Linked DNA regions of Homo sapiens: all the other regions are linked to region 1. The links are contacts of gene promoters, found by promoter capture Hi-C in human tissues and cell types (Jung and others, 2019). All regions are on one chromosome and are shown on one strand. The core of a region is centred on a gene start or on the middle of the fragment in contact, and the rest is flanking DNA. Distances in the headings are between cores, read along the strand shown.

Region 1 (4,417 bases), core at 605-3,104:
CCCAGGGCCTGCTCAGCGTGTTCCACCTCCAATCTGTATGTTCAGATTTCGGCTTGTGTCCAAGCTGGTGCCTCTGCCTGCCCTCCCCAAGGTCAGTGAGGAGCAGAACTTAGCTTAGGACTGGGGACTCCACCAGTGCTACTTGTACCCAGCACCAAACTCATTTAATTGGGGTCTCCTGAGAAAACCTGGGTGCTGCCTGCTGCCCCTGCCCCCAAAGGCTCAAACATAGTTTTCCATCTGCTTGGGAATCCTACCGCCACTCAAAGCTTCTAGCTTGACCTTCAGGATGCTTGTCTGCCTCTGGCCAGCTGCAGTCCCAGGGCAAGTTGCCCTCCACATGCTGCGTCCAGCCCCTTCCCATCCCCCAACTCCTCCCCAGGGCCGCTCATGGGAAGAGCCAAATGCTGTGTCTTGGAGAGGGCCAGGGGGGCTTTGCGGGACATTGTAAGGCTGGGGAAGATAAAGGGAGTCTGACGCACCTGCACTCAAAAACATAAAAATGGTCGGAAGAATTAGCAGGTGTCCACCACCCCACCCCCATCTTCCAAAAAGGGGCTGAGCTCCATCCAGGGGTGAGGCTCCCCTCCTCAGCTCCACGTGAAATGCAATCGGCTTCCGGCTGGGTTCCCTCCTGAGGGTCTAGTTGCATCCATCGGCTCCCCTGTCCCTTCTGAGCCCCCTAACCTGCCAAGGTCCCGCCGAGGATGTGGCCTCCGCCCCCCGCAGCCGCCGCAGGAGCTTCTGCCTCTAAAGCGGCAGGCAGGGGTCTCAGCGGGCCCACTTCAACCTGGGAAGGCCGGTGCGTTTCCCCACAGACCCCGCAGGGCGTTTCTTCTGGGGACCACTGAAGCCCTGGCATCCCCAACCCCAGCCCCTCCGCGCCACGGGAAACGAAGACGACACTCTTTTGAACAATCCCGGATGTGTCACCACAGAGGGGCATTCTACACTGGCCCCTACCCCAACCCCCACCTAGCACATTGCTTGCCCACCCCTCAAACCCCGTGCGGATTGCGGTACCTAGCCCCGGGGGACCCTCCAGCCCTGCCTTCCCGATCCGCGTAGGTGCGTCCGTCCACCTAAGGGTAGGGAGGCATGTCCCTCCGGGTCCCTCCGGCCGCATGGCTTGCCTGCCCCCCTGGTCTCCCTTCTCCGCATCAGGAGGGGCGTGAGATAGCTAGGTCGACCCCCACCCCGGCAGTCTGCGGCGATCGGCCGCCCCGAGCGCAGCGCCAGACACTTGGGTTGGGGGGTGTCAGCCTGACGCGCAGGAAGGGCGCAGCGGCGGGAGGGGGCTTCATTTCAGATCTGGGAGGCTTGCCTGGCGCCGGCCCTCGCCCGCTCTCCGTCGGTGGAGGTCGCGGCTGGCGGAGACCGCCAAGCCAGAGGAGGGGATCCGAGGTCCCGGCTGGGCGAAGGTTCTGGAGGGGGAGAAGACGGCCGAGGCGTGGAGGGGCAGCCGCGGCGGGGCGACCCTTACCTGCTCACTGCGGGGCCTGTCCGTGGGGCCGGGGCAGACTCCGCAAAGGACGCGCAGCCTGCAAGTCCGCGGCCCGCGCGGCGCGGGGATGGGGAGCGTGTGCGCCGAGGAGCGCGCGCCGAGCCGGGTCTCCGCGCCTGTGTGGCCGGCTGGCGGCCGGGGTCCGTGTGTCCCTGCGCGGCGGCGTGTGCGTGTGCGCACGCGGGGACCACGCTCGCCCGGAGCCGCCGCCGCCGCCGTCACTCCCTGCCCGGGGCCGAGCGCAGCGCCCCCTTTGCCCGCCCCGCGCGGCGCGGCAGTCCAGCTTGGCTCCGTCCTGCGGGAGAGGCGCCGCCTCCGCCGCGAAGCCAGGCTGGGCGCTGGAGGGAGGCGACCGACCACCGCCTCCCCCTGCTCACTTCACAGGCTGGGGAGGGGGTGCTGCAGGCCAATGAGCGCCCGGGGGCGGGGTTAGATCGAGGGCGGTGCGGTGGGGGGCGCGGTGGGGGGCGCCGGGCTGCTCAACCCGACCCCACCCGCAGCACAGACTGGAGCAGGAGCTGCGGCGGGAAATCCCAGCGGCGGGGGTCGGGGGCGCTGAGGTGGAGCCCTCAGCCCCCTGTCATCCCCGTCTCCTCTGACTCTGGGCCTCCTGGGCTCACCACCCTCTTTCCAGTCTCTCCATCATAGCCAGGACTAGAAAGCCTTCTTTCTTCTCCCTAGGTCCTCAAGATTTCCTGTGTATCAGAGCCTGTCTTCCCTCTCCTCCAAGAAGCCTTCCTTACCAGGCAAGTCTCAGACCCTCCTTGGGCTCTTCTTTGCCCCTACCGCCCAGGCCTGGGAGGGTCAGCTAGTTTTGGGGTGCCTGTCGGGATGTCCTCCAATGTGACCCCCCCGCCCCCGGAGAAAGACCAGGAAGGGGATGGTGGTGCTTACAGGACAGAGGCAACTTAAAATATCAGACTGCCTGGCTCCAGTCCCTGCTGTGCCACAGCTCTGTGAGCTTGGGTAAGTGGCTCAGCCTCTCTGAGCTTCAGCTTCTTCATCTGCACAAGGGAACAATAGTACCGGCCCCCAGGTCTCTTCACAGCAGCATTAAATAAAAATGGTACACTCACCCCATAGTAGTTTCTCCCTGGTATCATTGATTCGCCGATGCTGAATAAATTACTATTGCTACTGTTATTACAGTCCTGTCCAACCTCCTCCTAGTGCAAATGGCTTAATAAGGAGAACTACACAGGTAAAGGTGGCCTAGCGGGTTGGCAGCGAAGCCCAAACTTAACTGAGAGTAGTTAGTTACCCACTCCCAGGCAAGTTCTCACCCTCTGCCCACCCCACCCAGCCCCCATCCCACAGCTGCTCCTGCCTGCCTCTGCTCTCGGTTTTTGGTCCCTGCCTCAGGCGTCAGTCTCTGAGAGCTCTCAGTTCTGCAGCCAGGCTCTGTTCTTGCCCATTCAAGTAAATTCTCGCTCAGCTTCCCTTTGGGTCCAAGTTCTAGGTATGGCCACCTTGTCCAGGAGGCCTCAAGAAGGGGGAAGGAGGAGGGAGAGCCTTGAGCCTTCCTTTGGGGTCGCCAGTCTACCAAAGAGGAAAGGACCTGTGGATGGAGAGGAATCCATATGGAAACTTGAAAGAAGCAATCTGAGGGCCCAGAAAGACGCGTGGAGGTTCCTAGGTCCATGTTTCTCTTTACTGACCAATGACCGCTGACCCCCATTGACACAACACACTGGTAGTCTGATTGGTTCATGTTCCTTTCAGTCCAGGAGAGCTTCCTGGTGGAGGAGAATATCAGTCTTATCTATATCAAGAAAGAATGAAGAGAAAGGAGAGAAGAAATAATGGAGAGAAAAGGGCCAGGTGCTGTGCTAAAATCAGACACAGACAGGACCTCCCTTTAATCCTGGCTAACCCCTTCTTAGCTTGTTGCCCTAACCCCTGAGAGCTGAGAGCCGCTTTCTTCATCTGCCTCCAACTCTGGTGTTGTGAAGATCAAATGAGATGATGTGTATAAAAACTCTCTATAAACTGTGAAACTAAGTGTGAGGGAAAGGAGGCTGCCAGGAGTCTCAGAGTCAAGAGGGACTCAGAGTGCAGGACGTAGAGGGCCTGGGAGTGAGAGGAAGGGTGAAGATCAAGGTCATCTATGGCAGACCAGCCCATCCTGGGAATGTGGATGGCCAGGCTTCCAGATAGAGGCCCCCCTACTTTGAAGTTCAGCACTCAGTTCCAGATTTATTCTCTTTCCGTACTCTTGGTTCTCCAGTTTCCACTGCGGGTTCCAGATCCCCTGGAAGGGGCCAGTGGGGCTGGAAATCCAGATCCTGCTCTACCCACTGCCCACCAAACCAGGCATGCCCCCATCTACCCAAAAAGGGCAGTTTTTTCTAGTGGATTCACCTGGAGGCGGCACCTCTCTAACTGTCTTAAAGATGCCGTGTAGGCTAGCAGCCCTCGTAGATTTCGATTCTAATTCCAGCCCCCCGAGTAGCATCAGCCTGGGTGAGGCATGGAACACACATTAGAGCTGGGATCCAGGAGGGTTGTCTAGTCTCCTTCTCTATGGGTGGGGTACCTTAGCCCAGAGGGGCAACAAGACTAGCCCAAGGACACACAGGCAACTTTCTTATCAGAAATCTTATCCTGCTGCCCAACTTAGTGTTGTTCTACCTTGTGAGCTCTTCCCACCCCCTTAATTCTGGAAGCCACTCAGGCTTTCACGTCCTGCGCTGTTCTCCGCCTGTCACAGGCATGCCACTGTGGTCTCTCCAAATAATCTTGGAAGAGGAGCTATGCCAATTCTGTTCCCTGAGATTAGGCCTCCCCAGGGACAGGCCCCTCTTCTCTGCCTCCCCACCCATTCACCCAAAAAATCAACTTCACCTCCAGATCTAGCTCTGACCTTGTAAGCCAGCCAGCCTACCACTCCCACCCTACCCCTACGTGCCTGGC
Region 2 (4,417 bases), core at 1,073-3,572, 120 kb after region 1:
CCCTCTGGCTGCTAAGGTGTTTCAAATCCAACTCTCCAGGATATTTCCCTCCAGAAAAATCTCCCCGAGGGCGGCCTGGGTAGCTTCACACTTAGGGAGAAAGAAGGAAAGGGGCAGGGGTCTGGAACCCTCTGAATTTTCTGGAATCGAAACTGCAAGCCCATGGAGGCATTCCTGGGCATGGCGTCTCAGACCTCACATTCCTGGAGGCAGATGCAGCTGTTCCTCCCAGCCCTGGAGGTCACTGCCAGCAGCGGAAATTCTTGGAGTTCGTCTCGGATGGAAGCTGCCACAGGCCCGTCAGCTACAATCCAGGCGCGGTAGCGGCTCACCAGTTCCAGGGAACTTCAGCTACAATCCAGGCGCGGTAGCGGCTCACCAGTTCCAGGGAACTTCACGAACAGTTTAGCAGAGGAGTCACTCCCACCCAAGGGCCCAGAAATCCTCCCGCAGGGCCTGGAATGGAGACTCCTCTTTAGGTCTGCAGAGACACAGATGGGAGAGAGGGGGGGAAAGCAAGGCAGGACAGAAAAAGGTACAGGCATAGGGAGGGCGAGGAGATCCCTGAGTCCATCTCCTCGCTGCTGAGACCCAGACACAGGGTGAAAGCACAGAACGCTAGGAAAGGGCACCCTGAGGTGTATTTCAGAGCTGCGGCACGTGCTTGGCGTTGGCATGCACTTGGCATTGGCACGCGCAAGGTGGCCTGTTGGAACTATGGGGCCACATCCCCTGTGACCAGCCTCCACAACCTGTCTCTGTCAATGATTTCACTGGGACATGAAACTAGCTCTGGCCACGCTATGCCGTCTTAAATATGGAATTCACCTCCCAGTGCCTGACTTCACAAGGAATGTCAGCTGAGGAAATGTGATCAATGAATACAAAGGTTACTGACATTCTTATCACATTTCGAATTTATTATACATTTCTTATTGAAAAAAAAATGTTCACTGACCCAAAAAAATATTTTGTGTATAATCAGTCCAAGGTTAGACGTTGGATCTGGCAAAGAAGATGGATGAGAGCATTGGTCCTGACAGCCTGGTTTGGCAAGTGAGGAAGGGGAGCCCAGCCTCCCACCAGACCCCCAGGAACTTGCTCTTCCCAGCAGGAAAAAACAACATCAGCTGCCCAGAACTCGGCAATGTGCCTCTATTCTGCGACTGGGTCTGGATAAGATGCCCTCATATTGTTCAACAGCTAGATTTAAAGGTTTCCTTGGAGTCCACATGAATCCTGTCATCCCCGGCAGGCAGTAGCCTGACACAGTCCAGAAGACCCTGCAGCTGGGCCCACAGGCAGCTCGCAGACGTGCACAGATGCAGCGTGGGCATTCCTGCTGACAGGCCTGACATGACTCTCCGAAGAACTGAACCTCCTATGCACGTGCACACACACACACACACACACACACACACACACCCAAAGTGATATTCCAAATATATTAACACCCTGTGTGCCATAAGCACCACCCCCAGCCATCAACTTTACACGTACATGATTAAAATAAATTTTCTTACTTTCATTGGTTTGATTTGTTTTGGTTTCCTATTTGAGTTCCTTAAAGGCATAAGTTATTACATCTATTTAAGTTGCATTATGAAAAATATAAGCTAAGTTTAAAAAAAAAACACTCATATGAAATAAGGCACCAGGGACACTTTGACCCCTTTCAGAGTGTTCAAGACTGCTGTGAATTGTAAGCTTCAATCCTTAAGAACTTTTTCATCTGTACTGATTCTCTGATTTGCTTTTTTTGGATTGGACTCTTTTGTTGAATCAGCTTCCCTCATATTACTATTTCAGAGGGAGAAAGGATAATACTCTTCTACAAATTATATATCTACTTACCTACTTAAGCTTATTGAGAAATGTATGCCAATTCACCCTTAATGAACACAAGCCAGGCCAGCCTTCTCAAATCAATATTCTACCTGGAGAGCATGCTGGCTCTAGGCAAACTGAGTCTAGTAGCTGGTGGTGACATCTGTTAGGAAGAACACGTCTCTTGAGTTCCACATAACTCAAGGCACAGAGGGAGCAGAGCCGTCAGAGCACAATGGGAGCATCCTGGGGGAAAGATGCCCCCCAGGTCCCAGCTGCACCCCACACATGCACTGTCACTGTCCCACCTGGCCTCACTCCCTGGGCATTCCAGATGAAGCAAAGCACCACCTCCAGGTCAGGGAGGGACTGGGACACCACAGACATCACAGAGAAGGGACGACTTCACCCACTCTCCTTACGGGTGGGGAGACTGAGGACCAGAGAGGGCAGGAGCCTTGGACTCCAGCCTTGGACTATGTGCCCCAATCTGCTGACACACACACACATGCACATACACACACTTTTTTTCTAACTTGGACCTTGCTGGATAGACACCTCTTACTGCTTCCCACCCAGGGTTGATGTGTAAAACATATACCATCCTGGTATTGTGGGGACACCAATCCATCAGAACTATCCCACAACTTTAGTACTGGACAGGGTCCGAGGGGCCCCCTTAACACATTGAGTGCTGGATTGTGGGGAGGTCTGGGGGAGAATAGAGAGAGGCCGGGAAGCTAGGAAGGCCAGAGAGCAGGGATGGGAGGATGTTACTTGGATAGCTCAAAACAGATGAAAATATTTTAATATTTTAAGAGCAGGTGGGCTGGGCACGGTGGCTCGTGCCTGTAATCCCAGCACTTTGGGAGGCTGAAGTGGATGGATCACCTGAGGTCAGGAGTTTAAGACAGCCTGGCCAACATGATGAAACCCCGTCTCTACTAAAAATACAAAAACTAGCCAAGTGTGGTGGCACACGCCTGTAATCCCAGCTACTCGGGAGGCTGAGGCAGGAGAATCACTTGAACCCGGGAGGCAGAGGTTGCAGTGAGCTGAGATCGCACCACTGCACTTCAGCCTGGGCAACAGAGGGAGACTTCATCTCAAAAAAAAAAAAAAAAAAACAGGTGAATCTGTACTAGCCCGTACGGCTGAAGATCAGTTGTGCTCTCACCCAGTTCCAGATTGATGCGCTGGAAAGAACAGAAAAATAAGCAAAATCCTACATGCAGAGAACATGGCTTTATTGGAATGAAGCAGAATCACCTAAGCAGGATGAGCTCATTAAAATTGCTGGATACCCTTTGCCATAGGTCTCTCTGCACACCAGGGCCCAAGGTATCAGTGGGGACTAGTGGGCTCTTGAGGGCTAGGGAAGACACCCCTGTAAGCACGGGCTTCACCTGCCTTCCCTACCTACACAATCGCCCCCTTTTTGGCAGTAAGGACAGTAAACATCACTACCTTTGGGTCTTTGGGCCCCCAAGAATGGCCCCATCCTGGCCCCCAGCTCAGCAGCAAATTCCACTCATCGTCCTCATTGTATTCTAAACCTAAAGAAAACAAGGTGTCATGCCCAGCAGTTCCTCCATGAAACATTAATCACTGTCCCCTCCTAGACAGGCTTCTGACCAGTGAAGGCATGACCTACAGGAGCGATGGAAAAATCCCAATGGGCCAGCACATGGCCTGGCCACGCCATGGGTGGGGGCCCCGGCACCAGTTCCTCCAGTGCTTTTCCAGACTCCTGGCTTGGGTTCCAGGGATACTGAGGACCGCCTAAGAATCCCGAAAGAGAGAGAACCCTCCTTGCACCTACCGCATCCCCCAAGAGTGCCGTGGTCCTTGTGGTCAAGTGGCCTTGAGCCACCCACACCCTTCCATTTGGGCCCTCGGAGCCCACAGGAGCTTTGAGATGGATGACGGTGCTGGGAGCAGGGCCAGGGCTATGGGCCACTAACCCCGCTGAAGCTTCACCACATCTCTGACCAGTGGATGAATCCTAGTCCACGGTATTTCAGAAATCAAGTCTTCTCCCTATAACCTCTCAACACCCCTCCAGGGCCAGGAAAGATGAATCCCCTTGATTCTGGAGGAGAAAGTGAAATGTCAAAAAGAAAATATGGATCTGTAAGGATCTCAGACTCCTGAATGTTTAGAAACCCAGAAGAGGTTGATCCGATGCTTGAGATCATAAATATGTGTGGCTGAAGTGAACATTCACTGCTGGGCTCTGGCTGACCTGATCTTCCTAGGGTTCCTAGGGGGCCTCAGAATAAATGGAGCAATTGCAGAACCGTAACTTTTTGCTCTTGTGAATTTAATGGAAAGACAAATATTCTAGGATTCAGTGGCTGCTGGATTACATCCTGCTTCCTTCTGGGCCAGGTGCAGAGGGCATGACCTTCCAAGCCAGCTGAGCCATTCCGTGTGCAAGTCTCAAGGGGAGGGCCAGGAGGGTGTCTGATGGAGATAGTGACCTGTTGTCTGGTCTCATCAGGGACCCAGTCAGAGATGCGTGACAGGTGCCCCTCACCAAGTCACATCACATGTGCAGTTGCCTGAATGTTCAACAGCCTGAGGAAAA
Region 3 (4,417 bases), core at 496-2,995, 72 kb before region 1:
GTATACTGACAGGAGCTGGACACTGTATGCAAGATTTCTATGGAGAAGCCATTTGCCCTAAGTTACACACTTTGGGGTTCCTTTCTGTTCTACCAGGCAGCCTCTGAGCGGGAGAACAGGCTGAGCCAAGGCACACTGGCTGGAAAGCTAGAGGCTTGTTTAATAGAGACAGGATTCTGGCCTGGCTATTGGGATCCTAAGAAGGAAAAGGGCAAGTGGGCATTATGGAGGACCCTGAAGTTCACTTATTTCCACCAACTTCACTGGTTAACTCCTGTGTAATGGGATTTTGCTGTGCCCATGAGGCATAGGAAGATGAATAAAATACATGCCTGCCACCAGGCTTATAGGTCAAAAAAAAAAGGACATTTTCTCTCCTGAGGCTGTAGGCCTTAGGAAGGCTTATGGGATCAAAGGACAGTGTGGCTGCAGGACATTGGCATGGAGAATGGAATCAAGAGAGCAGCTATGCAGGATGCGTCAACCCTGGGCTCTCTCAAAGGCACAGTTCCTTTGTCCCAGGGGCATCTCTTGGGTAGTCACAGGTATTGGCTGCCTTCCTTTAGACCAGAGGACCTGGGCTGCGCAGCAGGAGGGAGTGGCAGATGAGCAAGCATTACCGCCTGAGCTCCGCTTCTTGTCAGATCAGCAGTTGCATTTGATTCTCACAGGAGCTCAAGCCTATTGTAAACTGCACAGGGAGGGATCTAGGTGCATTCTCCTTACAAGAATCTAATGCCTGATGATCTGAGGTGGAACAGTTTCATCCCAAAACCATCCTCCTGCCACCCAGTCCCTGGAAAAATTGTCTTCCATGAAACCAGTCCCTGATGCCAAAAAGATTGGGAACCGCTGCTTTAGAAGGCTGCCTCTCTGCGGTGAGTCCAGAACCCAAACAACATGCTTCAGTGCTTGTAATGTTACATGGAAAGCCCAGAGAATGTTTCAAGATCCCAACTACAGACTTTGGTTTATTTTGGGTTTTGTTTTTTGTTTTATTTTGCTTTGCTTTGTTTCATTTTGTTTTGTTTTTGAGACAGACTCTTACTCTGTCACTTAGGCTGGAGTGCAGTGGTGCGATCTCAGCTCACTGCAGCCTCCGTCTCCCAGGTTCAAGTGATCCTCCCACCTCAGCCTCCCAAGTAGCTGGGACCACAGGCATGCACCACCACCCCTGTCTAATTTTTTTTTTTATTTTTAGTAAAGACGAAGTCTCACTATGTTGCCCAAGTTGGTCTCAAACTCCTGAGCTCAAGGGCTCCTCCTGCTGGGGCCTCCCAAAGTGCTGAGATTACAGGTGTGAGCCACTGTGCCAGACCCCAAATACAGACTATAGAATAAGTTTGGTGTCAATGCCATGATTTAAAGTGAGTATCCTCAGCAGGAACTCAATGGAAGTTGACGTTGACTGAGCCAGTACCATCAGAGATGAAGAATTATGACAGGAGAAAGGTTCCAATTGTTATAACTAGATAAATGAATCACCTAATTTCTCAAGGGTAAATTTTTGGAGAATTGTAGGAAAATGGATCTGGTGACAGTATCTGGTTGCCATATTTTATTTTCACTATTGAACATAAGTTGTCTAGGTACGGTGGCCACATCTGTGATCCCAGCACTTTGGTAGGCTGAGGTGGGTGGATCGCTTGAGCCCAGGAGTTCAAGACCAGGCTAGGCAATATGGAGAAACCCCATTTCTAAAAAAAAAAAAAAAAAAAAAACAAAAAAATTAGCCAGGTGTGGTGTGGTGCACACCTGTATCCCAGCTACCCAGGAGGTGGTGGGAGGATCAATTGAGCCCAGGAGGTCAAGGCTGCAGTGAGCTGTGGTCCAGTCCCTGCACTTCAGCCTGGGAGACAGAGTAAGACCCCGTCTCCAAAAAAAAAAAAAAAGAACTTAACTGAATTCATCTTATTCTCCATTATTTGTTTCCTGTTTCTTTCCCTCTCTGCTAGAATTATTGTGCCAGCGATAACAAGATTGTCATATCTGCTGCTATGCCCCAAGGCCTGGAAGAGTGCCCAGCTCATTGAAGGCACTCAGTCAATAAGTGTCAGTAGGCTAGATGAACAGTTCTTCCATGCCTAGATCTAACCTGACCTTCAAGGCAAGTTTTCCCTAATCCTGAAACTGGACCTTATCTTTTCTGGGCCTTGTTGATGGCACATGTTTTTGTCTAGATTCTGTAGCAGTAGAGCCTGAAGTAGAGATCCTTGAGCAGGGATCTTACAGAAGGAGTGCATGGGGAGACACTGAAGGGCAGTGAGGAAGCGGGGATGGGTGGAGGAAGGAGCCAGACCTCAGCAGAATCAGCCTCATGCTGATCCAGCAGGAGCCACTGATGTCAACCACAGAGGTGGTCCCAACCAGAGGCAAGGCGGCTGGGCGGTTACCCCTACATCCCTCAGTCACTGGCTACCGGCCACCCTGGATGAGAAAGGTGAAGGGGGTAGTCTTACCCCTCAGAAATCTGCCAGCAATTGTCTGCAGAAGAGGGCAGGGTAAGCTCTTAGCAACCCAACCTGCAGCCGCTGGACTGGGGAAGGCGCCTAGTCCTGGCACTAGCAGCTTTGGGGAGGATGCATTTCCCTGTTTGCCTTCTTTTTAGAGTCTTTATTAACATTCTTAAAAATAATAAAGCTTCTTGAGATCAAGATTCTTATCTCTTTAACTTTCATGTCCTCAAAAGCATCGGATGATGGACTTAGTAAATATCTCAATGAAAATCCAAAGATGGATAGATCAGTTATGTTAGTGTTTACAATCTAGTGTGAAAATTCTTAGACACATGTTCACTTTCTAAATGACACCAAAGCCATGCTTCTTATATTTATGTGGTCTCAATAAATAAGTTTTCTGTATGATCAGAAAAAAAAAAGTAAATGTGTGCTTTATCAAAAAAATATAAAGGGTTAAACCACTGCAAAATCCTCTGTAGGACACATTCTTTCTACAGGCAATGTAAGACTAAAGTTTTTCCTCCAAATGTAAATTATAGTAAATATTTTAACTTGTTCTTGCCCTTCATTATCTCACTTATGAGTCATTGTGTGGAAACAAGCCTGGTTGGCAGAAAAATCGGAACTGGAAAGAGCTCCTGCTATTTCCAAAGGGGAGCTCTTGGCTGCTCGTGTTACCAACCAAATGACCAGAAGAGGGCAGTGCACACCCAGACGCTGAATTTTGCCCTAAGAAGCCAAGATGGGGAACTTGTTGAGGGGCAGCTTGGCTGGGGGAGGAGTGGCTCTGAGTTCCAGACATATTCTGTTGTCTGCTGCCTCACCCGCCACTCAGGCTAAGTGACTGTGGTTGGGTCACGGCCCGCTGTAAGTGTTCCTCTGCTTGGGATCTGCCTTTCTGTGCTTCCAGGTTTGCTACTGTAAACCAAAAGGTGCCTGCAACAGGTCTCAATTTAGAAGTTTATTTTGTCAAGGTTAAGGATTCATGCCCGAGAGACAGGTCTGTGCCTTTCTCCAAAGATGATTTTGAGGACTTCAATACTTAGAGGGGAAAGGGTAGCTACTGGGGGAAGAGGAAGACATTTTTAAAAGGTGTGAGTTCATAAGAGGCAAACAGTCGCATTCTTTTGAGTTTGATCAGCTTTTCTCTATGCCAGAAGGGGTAGAGGAACAGTCACTTATGAATTCATCTAGCTCAGTGGATCTGCACTTTTACCTAAGATAAAATAAACATAGGGCAGAGGAAGCAATCAGATATGCATTTGTCTCAGGGGAGCCGAGGGATGGCTTTGAGTCCTGTTCTTTGTCCCGTACCTATGAAGAGAAGCTATCAGTGTACTTTGTCGGGGTGAAATTCAACAGAACTGTTTCAGGGTTGAGACACTGGGTCCCAGAAGGAATTTCCCAGTGGGCAAATTGTGAGCGAGGGAGGGAGGGAGGATTTTTTTTTTTAATCTTTGTAGCTATCTCATTTAGCAATAAAATGAGAGACAGGTTTGCCCCCAGTTCCCAACTTCACTTTTCTCTTTGGCCTACTGATTTGATCCTGAGATTTCTTTTCCTTTCACACTGCCCCATGGGCTGGGCCCAATCTCAGGCCTGGTGTTGCTGAGAAGCTCAGTGCAGCCTGGGTCTCCCATAGGCCACAGGGCAGGCAAACCTCTCCTCAGAGCTGAGTGTGTGGTTCCAATCAGGGATGGGGCTCTAGCCAGTCATTGGGGGGCCAGTCAAAGCTGAAGATGGGGACATTCTGAGGACCAGGGCTGGGTCTGATATTTTGATTGCTTGAGTGGGCGACAGAGAGCAGTGTTTCCTTAAATTTCCCCCCAAAGATATAAATCATGCCCTTCGCAACCTAATCCTTTCCTCTGTATCCCTTTCACTCTGGTGGGAGGACTCCTTTCCAGCAAAATTCTTTCTTGGGAGCAAATAAGGACTGCAAACTGCCAGGTCCCTTT

The links. The method cuts DNA at HindIII sites, captures the fragments that hold promoters and counts their contacts. A contact is called where the count stands out against the background at its distance.
Region 2: a contact is called between a fragment that was not itself captured here and the fragment with the promoter of ADCYAP1R1 in region 1, in 4 of the 25 tissues and cell types used here (H1 embryonic stem cells, heart right ventricle, mesendoderm cells and 1 more).
Region 3: a fragment that was not itself captured here is called in contact with the fragment with the promoter of ADCYAP1R1 in region 1 in 2 of the 25 tissues and cell types used here (H1 embryonic stem cells and mesendoderm cells).

Annotation. Positions count from the first base shown.
Region 1 is chr7:31,049,745-31,054,161 of GRCh38, reverse strand. ADCYAP1R1 (ADCYAP receptor type I) reads right to left here and starts at 1,854. Exons shown (of 16, transcript NM_001118.5): 1 at 1,484-1,854. The HindIII fragment of the contact is 8,235 bases long and covers 1-4,417 here.
Region 2 is chr7:30,927,648-30,932,064 of GRCh38, reverse strand. No RefSeq gene overlaps it. Among named protein-coding and RNA genes, the nearest start is that of AQP1, 18 kb to the right of the region's middle. The HindIII fragment of the contact is 4,778 bases long and covers 1-4,417 here.
Region 3 is chr7:31,121,524-31,125,940 of GRCh38, reverse strand. No RefSeq gene overlaps it. Among named protein-coding and RNA genes, the nearest start is that of ADCYAP1R1, 71 kb to the right of the region's middle. The HindIII fragment of the contact is 4,582 bases long and covers 1-4,036 here.